3 separate regions of the Homo sapiens genome follow, and all the other regions are linked to region 1. Evidence: promoter capture Hi-C in human tissues and cell types (Jung and others, 2019). All regions are on one chromosome and are shown on one strand. Each heading gives the region's core, a stretch centred on a gene start or on the middle of the fragment in contact. The rest is flanking DNA. Distances are from core to core; before and after follow the strand shown. Region 1 holds the start of FGF6 (fibroblast growth factor 6). Region 2 holds the start of GALNT8 (polypeptide N-acetylgalactosaminyltransferase 8). Region 3 has its middle 47 kb from the start of LINC03141.

Region 1 (3,024 bases), core at 151-2,650:
ATTGTGCTGTTAGAAATCCAGTTCTGCAAGGGAAGGTTCTGATAGCAGAGTTAGGGGCTGCAGTGACCACTTAGCTATCTGTTTAAGATGAGCTTTGAATCTGGGCTTTCAGTGACATAATTACTTGAGGTCCTTGACTTGAGTAAAAAAATAAATTCTGATTCTTCTTCTTCTTCTTAATGTGTACTCTACATGTTTCAACAAATCTCAACCCACTTAATCTTGAAAACACAGCAGCCACACCATAGCTGATGGCTTTCTTGGATCCTGCAGCCCCCATCCTTTCTTGGATAGGAGACTAACCATACAGCAAGCTGGCAGCTTGCAGGCAGCTTGCAGGATAAGAACCTGGGGACAGAGGGAGCCGCTGAAATAAAAAGAAGGATGTGCTTCAGTTGGACATTTTGCAATTGAATTTCCCTTCCTTCTCCAAGAAAGAAGCTGAATAAAAATGAGCTTGTGTCAAATTTGATCCAAGTATACTAACTGATTCTCCCTACCCAGGCCTTGGGGGCTTCCCAGACTAATGGTTCCTAATGGTCTTACAAGGCATCAGATGGGCCAGTAATGCTGAAATAGTTAGTGCCACTGAGGATCTAACCAAGGCGATGGCAAAGAACACCAGGATGCTTGGACCGCAGTATATTGAGCTTGCACCCAGGCAGGGTCACGTGGAATCATCTAAGTGGTGAGCAGCATTTCTGCCCCCTTTATCGTGCATCCTGTCCGCTAGAGCAGGGCCCCTTCACCTTTTAGCCCTGCATGAGCCCAAACCCCCAAGCGTCCCGACTGGCTGCAGCTGGCACTCACTGTAGGGGTTCTCCTCGTGGGTCCCGCTGATCCGGCCGTCGGGGAGCACCTGGAGGTGAAAGCCGATGCCCACGTTGCAGTAGAGCCTCCGCTGCCGCTTGATCCCCACCAAATAGCCACTTTCCCAGTTCACCCCGGCAATCTCTCCAGCTAGCCCGGCGCGAGACCTGGACAGCAGGGTGCCCCAGCCCCTCGAGTCCAGCAGCGTGTTGTTGGCACGGGTGCCTGCAGGCGAGGGCACCACCATGCCCACTAGGATGCCTAGGAAGACGAGAGCCCACAGCGTGCCCTGCAGACGTCCTGCTCCCCGGGACATAGTGATGAACAGTTTCTGTCCCAGGGCCATCCACCTTGCCTCTCAGGCACGTGGTCAGAATTAATGGCCCTAAAAATACCGCCCTTCTTGTTTTTCTCCCTCCGGCATGGCGGCAGGGGCTTATTTTTGGAAGGCAGATGAAGGCTGCTGACATGAAACCAAAGCCTCCATCGGGCACTCGGGTTGAGAGCAGAGGGACCCAGGCTGAGCCGCGGCCGGTAGAGACCATGGCTCGGGGACGCTCTCTAGCTCGCCCGCTTGCTCCGTCCCTAGTTGATGATATTTGATTTGACCTATCTTTATAGTTGCTTCAGCAGCCCGGCCCTCCCCTCCACCCATCATCGCCCTGACGTCAACCCGCCCAGCTCACTTATCCAGGGCTGTAACATTAACCTGCTCTTGGGCCTGGCTGCCTCCCCAGACCCCCATCACCCTCCACACTCCCCAGGGGTTCTGGGAGCCACTGTCATTCCAACTATGAGGCAGGAATGAAGTGAGCAGGGAGCATCTCTGGGGGAGGGGGGAGCTGGCTGGGGGCCCAGGGAAAGAGAGAGGCGAGAGGCCACCCAGGACCCATATTGGGCAGAAGTTCTTTGCCTGGCAGCGCTGGCTTCCTTATTTAGAGGGCAATAGGTAGAGGCAGGGATGGGAAAAGGCTTGTGGTAGTGATGACCGTAGCCTCAAGTCACCCTTGAGATCTTTTCATGGAAACAGCTCATGGTGGAGGGGAACACTGAAAGGCCAAACCCTTTCAGCAGGAGGGCACAGACATTCTCAGGGGGTGGGGATGGGGGTTGTTCAAGGAGCTTTAAGATTGTGGAGGGAAGGAGGGCAAGGGCAAGGTTTGCCTGCTCACTGTCCTGGTCCCGACATTCACCTGGGGTGGAAGTTGTGTCTGGCCTTTGACACAGCCCCCTGGCCATTCTCCCTGGATTTATCCCTGGCATGTGACTGATATTATTCCCATTTCACAGATGAGGAAGTTGAGGCTTAGAGAGGATAAATGACCTGCCCGAGTTACCATAGCTAATAAGTAGCAAAGCCAGAACTTCTAAGGTGTGCCTGAGTCTAAAGCCTGTGCATGTCTAATGCTTGCAGTAGAAGTTGGCTGGCCCATAGAGTCTGTTTAGCTCCTTAAATGCCAATAGCACATCACAGAGTTATTTCAGTAGCATAAAATGATTTATTTCTTAAAAAAAACTTGAGTGTCTTTGATGTACATGAGAACTTCTATATTTGCAGATAACTTTTGCTGGGCTGATATTACACTCAGAAACTAGTAAAAATATTTCTGCCAGGAAGTTATTCCTACACTGATTTATCTTATTCCCATATTACTTTTAAATAGATTACATGTCTAACTGAAGTGAGAAAAAAAATGTAAAGCTACCAGAAAACTCACTGCACAAATTTCTATACAATATAAGACAGAACTATTAATACGTCTCTGAGGGTGAATAAGTTAACAAGGGTCGCTGGGGAATTGAATTAACTTGAGTTAAAAATCCTGTTTCTTGTACTTCAATCCAGGCCTTAATCTGTTGGTGAGACATTAGCACTGATTTTGCCGGGATTGGAGAGAGTATGTGTGGGGTGATGACAGTGGCATACAGATGGATTTGAGTGTCCTGAGCAGTAGAGCTGGTCCCAGCAGGCAGCTCCCTTAGCCACACTCTACACCCACATTGCAGGCTGCAGGCAGCCTGGAAAAGCTCCTGGGGTGAGTTCCATGGCCCAAGGACTCTACTGAGGCACCACCGCCTTCCCTCTGATTCTAAACCTTCTGCTGTGCCCTGGGTCCCAGCCTCTGGTCTGTGGCTTCTACCTGCCTTCTCTCTGCCCTTCTGCCTCGTTCACTGGGTTCGATGCTTTGGTTCAAATTTCTGTCAAGCCATGTG
Region 2 (3,056 bases), core at 147-2,646, 270 kb after region 1:
TGGGAGACATTTTCTATCCCTGCGAAACAGAAGAAGTGATTCCTTTTCATTTTGTTCATTTTCATCCTGTTTTTCCTAAAGCCACATTACTTTCCTTTAATCCACATGTCCGCCTCAGCACATGTCACCATGTGCTGTGTTTGGGACGTAGTAAATAGTCCAAAGAGCCAGGCCGGGGTGGAAGCTGTGATTTTGACGGGATTGACAGTAGACTGAGAACTTTGAACTTTTAGCCTTGGGGAACAATTTTATGTGTTTATTCTACAATGATGATCACTGGTGATTTGTCCAAAACATATTATAAGTGTGAGGTGTGGAGGCAAAGGAGTTACTGGAAGCTGGGGCAGGGCAGAAGCCCAGTGTATGAAGTTGTGCAGAGGACAAGCAAAGGACAGAGACCAGTGAATCGGAGTCATCCCCTGAGGCTCAACCCCGGGCACCGCCTCCAGCTCTTCTCCACCTGCTTCTAGGCAGTGAAGTCCTAGGAACTAGCAAGAAAGTCTGTCCTTAAGTTTGTGGGACAAGCATTTGTTGCACACCTACTATGTCCAAAACCCTGTAGAGTTAGGTAAAAAGACATCTTAGATCCCAGCTCTCCAAAAAAGCAAGGATCTAAGTGTACAGAGACTTCTTGCTTCGTGATTTCTTCTTCATCCTATTTATCCCCTTCTTATACCCACAGGACCAGACCTCACATGCCCTATCAGAGTCTCCCAGGTGGTTTTTCCAGGGAGAGAGAACATTAAACATCAAACAAACATATATAGAGAAAAGCCTCTCACCCAGGCAGCCTGAGCTAGCTGCAGGAGCAAGCATTCTTCTGACTTCTGAGACAGTACAAGGTGTGTCCAGGTGACTTACCTGTCACTGGGCAGCTGCCATGCGCACTCCTCACACCTGACGCTGCTCAGGGAGAAGCCAGGCAGCTATAATAGTGTTCTTGGCCGGAGAACATCTGGCCTAGCAGGCAGGGTGTCATCTATGAAGCTGGGTGGAGAGAAAGCTGTTGGGGAAACCAGCCCCACACCACCCAGCGGATACCCCGAGTCCGGCGGAGACAAAGGAGTTAGAAAGAGACAGAACAAGCGTTTAAAAGGCAGGTCCAGGGGACCAGAGCGTTGGAGGCTTGCTCACGGCCCAGAGCTCTGGGCTCCACCCAATTTATTGGTTTACAAGCTCTTTGTTCTTAGGGCAGATGGGAAGGGGAGGAAGGGATGAGGAAAAGGATTAATCAGTGAGTCATTCGATAAGATGTGTAACAGTGGCGGTTTCTGTGAATTTCCTTGAGCAAAGGCGTGTGTCTAAACTACTTAAGATCTTTAATGACTGAAATGGGTGGGAGTGGGTTTCAGGAGGAGCCAAGATGTTTGATTATACTCCTCTGCTTCAAGGGAGTGTTATCTCCCTGAGCAACCTGTGGAAAGCCGCTGAGCAACCTGTGGAAAGCCGCTGAGCGGTTATCCTCTCGGGGCATAAAGACAAAGAAGGCAATAAGGAGACTTTGCTCCTCAGAGGCCACCCGTGGCTTCCCATGGGTGTCTCACACAGGGGAGACCAACTCAACTGGCACCTAGAACTCTCTTTCCCACAAAAGCTAGGCTGGTTCTGATTCTTAACCTGCTCCAGCAGTGACACACTCAGTCCCACAGGGAGTGGACGACCCCCAGGAAGAAGATGATGTTTTGGAGGAAACTCCCCAAAGCCCTCTTCATTGGGCTGACTCTGGCCATTGCTGTCAATCTCCTTCTGGTATTTTCTAGCAAGGGGACTTTACAAAACCTGTTTACGGGTGGTCTCCACAGGGAGCTTCCTTTACATCTGAATAAACGCTACGGGGCAGTGATAAAGAGACTCTCCCACTTGGAGGTGGAATTGCAGGATCTGAGTAAGTTTACAATGCTAACCTGGAAGGTGTGTGTGTGGGTGTGTGTGTTTGGGGCACTTAGGAAAAAGGGATATGGAAGGAAAAATGGGTGAGAGGTCACATTTTCATCTCAGTCGCTCATTGAAGCATCTGACACTGAATTCTGTGCCTTCAAATGGGAGATGGGTATTGAGAATGAAGTGAGTAGAAGTGGAAATTAGAGCAAGCAGTATGGGGGAGGTGAGCATGTGTGTGTGTATGCGTGTGTGGGCTTGTGCACATGCATTATCATTATATCTACATATGTGCAGGCAACGAGAAGAATAAGAATCCCAAGGGCCATAGACCTGTCCTTAGGCCTATTGAAGGGGTGGGTTGCACCTCCACACCTGTGGGTGTTTCTCGTTAGGTGGAACGAGAGACTTTGGAAGAGAAAAAGACACAGAAACAAAGTATGTAGAGAGAAATAAGGGGGCCCAGGGGACCAGCGTTCAGCATACGGAGGATCCCGCCAGCCTCTGAGTTCCCTTAGTATTTATTGATCATTCTTGGGTGTTTCTCGGAGAGGGGGATGTGTCAGGGTCATAGGATAATAGTGGAGAGAAGGTCAGCAGATAAACACGTGAACAAAGGTCTCTGCATCATAGACAAGGTAAAGAATTAAGTGCTGTGCTTTAGATATGCATACACATAAACATCTCAATGCCTTAAACAGCAGTATTGCTGCCCGCATGTCCCACCTCCAGCCCTAAGGCGGTTTTCTCCTATCTCAGTAGATGGAATATACAATCGGGTTTTACACCGAGACATTCCATTGCCCAGGGACGGGCAGGAGACAGATGCCTTCCTCTTGTCTCAACTGCAGAAAGGCGTTCCTTCCTCTTTTACTAATCCTCCTCAGCACAGACCCTTTACGGGTGTCGGGCTGGGGGACAGTCAGGTCTTTCCCTTCCCACGAGGCCATATTTCAGATGGTCACATGGGGAGAAACCTTGGACAATACCTGGCTTTCCTAGGCAGAGGTCCCTGTGGCCTTCCGCAGTGTTTTGTGTCCCTGGGTACTTGAGATTAGGGAGTGGTGATGACTCTTAACGAGCATGCTGCCTTCAAGCATCTGTTTAACAAAGCACATCTTGCATAGCCCTTAATCCATTTAACCCTGAGTCGACACAGCACATGTTTCAGGGAGCAC
Region 3 (2,973 bases), core at 335-2,834, 480 kb before region 1:
ATGGCAGATGAAGAATCTGAAGCTCGGGTCCTTGGAAATGTCAGTGTTGCATGGCTTGTCCAAGATGGCCCTGGGACGATATCCTGCACTAAAAGCACAAGCTCTGCAGTTATACCGCCTAGCTTTGTGATCTTGAGCTGGTTACTTAACCCCTTCATGCCTCAATTTCCTCATCTTTAAAATGAGAGAAGACAACAGTGCCTACTTCTAAGAGTTTTTATAAGAAGTAAACATATATATATATATATATTTACTACACACACACACACACATATGTAAAGTACTGAGGACCGGCTATGGTGGCTCATAACTATAATCCCAATTCTTTGTGAGGTCAAGGCAGGAGGATCAATTGAAACCAGCCTGAACAACATAGGGATACTCTATCTCTACAAAAATTGTGAAAAATTAGCCAGACGTGTTGGTGCGCGCCTGTAGTCTTGGCTACACGGGAGGCTGAGGTGGGAGGATTGTTTGAGCCCAGGAGTTGGAGGCTGTAGTGAGCTATGATTGTGCCACTGCACTCCAGCCTGGGCAATAGAGTAAGACTCTGTCTCAATCAATCAATCAATATAAAGTGCTTAGAATGGCATCTGGCTTATAGTGCTCCTTAAGCATTAGTGATTATTATTAGAAAACTTGACCCCACTTCACAATCTAATAAAATTTAACCTTGAGTAGGATACCGAGTTTTAATATATGCATTGCTATCCACTGACAGCCAGGAAGCTTCATGAAGCAAGAATAGCACCAGCAGGCTGTGGCCCACACTGAGACGGGATGGGCACCATTTGTCTCCTTCATTCCTGAAGCGCCCCAGCTTGGGCCAGGCACCCTTGTTGGGACGGTGAGTGGTGGAGAGATTTATTTAGATGAAGGGGGAAAGCCCATGGAGGCTGAAAAAGGAAAGTCTGGAAAGAAGCGAGGATTTAATCTAAGCAATTTCTTCCCCAACAGCTATCATTTGCAGCCGGGCTTGTGGGACCGCTTGGGCGCCATTTTGACCACTAGAGGTCAGTGAATGTTTACTCTCCCCAAAGTGTGGGTCTCCAGGAGAGGCGATGTCCGTAGATCACCCGTAGTACCTCTCCATCCCTCTCCACCACCGCCCCTTTTGTGGACCTGGGTTTGGTTTGATTTTCCAGGAGTCTAAGTCATCCACAATTTTCTCCTGTTCCTTCCAGAACCAGGTTAGCCTTTGCAGGGCAAGGCTCTGGGCCAAGGGTGGAGAATATGATATGTGTCCAGAGATCACTTTTTCCTCTAAAGCCCACAGGCTCAAATGCTCAAGACTGTCAGTGGCACTCATTTTATAACAAACGCAGTCTAAACTCTTCCAGGTCTGCTAACTCTCATCCTTCCACCACGGCATTACATCTTGTCATCTCTCCCCAACTCCGCTCACCTCTTTCCCAATCATGTATCCCTCTGTAGGACTCCTTCCTGTTTTCCAAGGCATGCATCAAACACTATAATTCTCCATTCTAGAAATCCTATAATACATTGTCTCTCTCCTATACTGGTTACATGTACGCATTATAGTATGTACATACTACTGCAGATGACAATTGTTTTTGTCTTAGCTCATCTGCTAGACTGAGCTCCCTGAGGCCTCGGACTATGAATTATTCATTTTTAGTGTATTCATAGTTCCTGGTGCAAATGTGATGTTAACAACTATTTGCTGAATGAACATATTTTTCATTACAGTCAACTGACTCCCTGGCTTAAACTGGTATGTGAGAACCTCTGTGCAGAAAGAGATCTGTATGCTTCCCAGAGGCGATCCATGCCAGCCTCTGCCTCAAGGCAAGCTGTGCCTAGGTTTCCCACACTGCTGGTGCTCCCCGTGGCCATGTCCTCTTCCTTCAGACAATCAGATTTCATTTTCCAGCCTCCCTTGCCATGAGAGGTCATCATGTGACTAAATCACAGCCAATGGAAAGGGAGCAAAGTCATGTATACTTTGTTCCAGCCTGACCCGTAGAAACCAATACTGTTTCATTCCCAATCTCTTTCCCCCTTTGGACCTAGAGAAGGCACAGCCATGAGAGGAAAGGTGCCTGCATCCCTACATGACCACAAGCAAAGCCTATCTGCTGACCACGAGCGAGAAATTAACTCTTTAATAGTTCACAAGAAACAGACTACAGGAAGGCCACAGGAAGGATGGGACCTTGGAGGAATTCAAAGGTCAGGGATTTTTTTTTCCCATTCACTGTGGCAAAACATATAAATCACAGAACTTTAGAGCAAGAAGGCGTGGATCCAGCCCAGAATTTTAACAGATGAACAAATTGAGGGCGAGAGTGGTAAGGCAACTCACCCAAGGTCACACAGTTACTTGGTAGCATAAAGAAGACTAGAATGTCAGTTTTCTTCCCGTTCTGTATACCATGTCCTGAAGGCTGCCCCAGAACGAGCAGAGTGCTGCTGAGTGGTGTGGCCAACCCTGAAAGGCTGCTGTGAAAATGTTCAACAAAGGTGTTAAGTCTCCATATCATAAGAAAAAAGAATGGTTCATAGGTTTGGGCCACCAGGATGAAAACTAAGATCAAAATATTAAGCCAAGTTCAGCAGGAATTATGGCTGGAATACACAAGGAGTTAGGGAGAACAGAAGAGAAATCAGCTGAAGAAATAGGGCTCCTGAAAATGTCCTTTGGCTCTGTTTGACCCAGCCCCTTGACCTAAGGAGCATAATGACTCAAAGTGTTTTGATATTTGTTATAATTGCTTGTGGCATGGGGCTGCAATCCTCACAAAGAGAACTACTGGCTATACAACTGATGGGTACAGACATCAACAATGACATGGCTGGGCAGAAATCCAAGAGCACACATAGATCATACAACAGAGATCAGAAAGACAAGTCATGATATAGTACAGTACTAGCATCTTTAAAGGTGTCAGAGATAACTGAGGCATTTGGGTTTTTAAAAAGTGAGGATAAGCACTGAGACCTCAGGCATCT

The links. Contacts are between HindIII fragments. The study calls those that stand out against the background at their distance.
Region 2: the fragment with the promoter of GALNT8 here is called in contact with the fragment with the promoter of FGF6 in region 1 in 1 of the 25 tissues and cell types used here (liver).
Region 3: a contact is called between a fragment that was not itself captured here and the fragment with the promoter of FGF6 in region 1, in 2 of the 25 tissues and cell types used here (H1 embryonic stem cells and aorta).

What each region holds. Positions count from the first base shown.
Region 1 is chr12:4,444,415-4,447,438 of GRCh38, forward strand. FGF6 (fibroblast growth factor 6) reads right to left here and starts at 1,401. Exons shown (of 3, transcript NM_020996.3): 1 at 811-1,401. The coding sequence starts at 1,156. The HindIII fragment of the contact is 16,147 bases long and covers 1-3,024 here.
Region 2 is chr12:4,719,004-4,722,059 of GRCh38, forward strand. It overlaps GALNT8 (polypeptide N-acetylgalactosaminyltransferase 8), which reads left to right and starts at 1,397. Exons shown (of 11, transcript NM_017417.2): 1 at 1,397-1,885. The coding sequence starts at 1,675. GAU1 (GALNT8 antisense upstream 1) reads right to left here and starts at 1,099. Exons shown (of 4, transcript NR_110112.1): 1 at 862-1,099. RefSeq lists enhancers at 518-1,513, 1,514-2,509, 2,510-3,056. The HindIII fragment of the contact is 21,668 bases long and covers 1-3,056 here.
Region 3 is chr12:3,963,600-3,966,572 of GRCh38, forward strand. No RefSeq gene overlaps it. Among named protein-coding and RNA genes, the nearest start is that of LINC03141, 47 kb to the right of the region's middle. The HindIII fragment of the contact is 4,388 bases long and covers 1-2,973 here.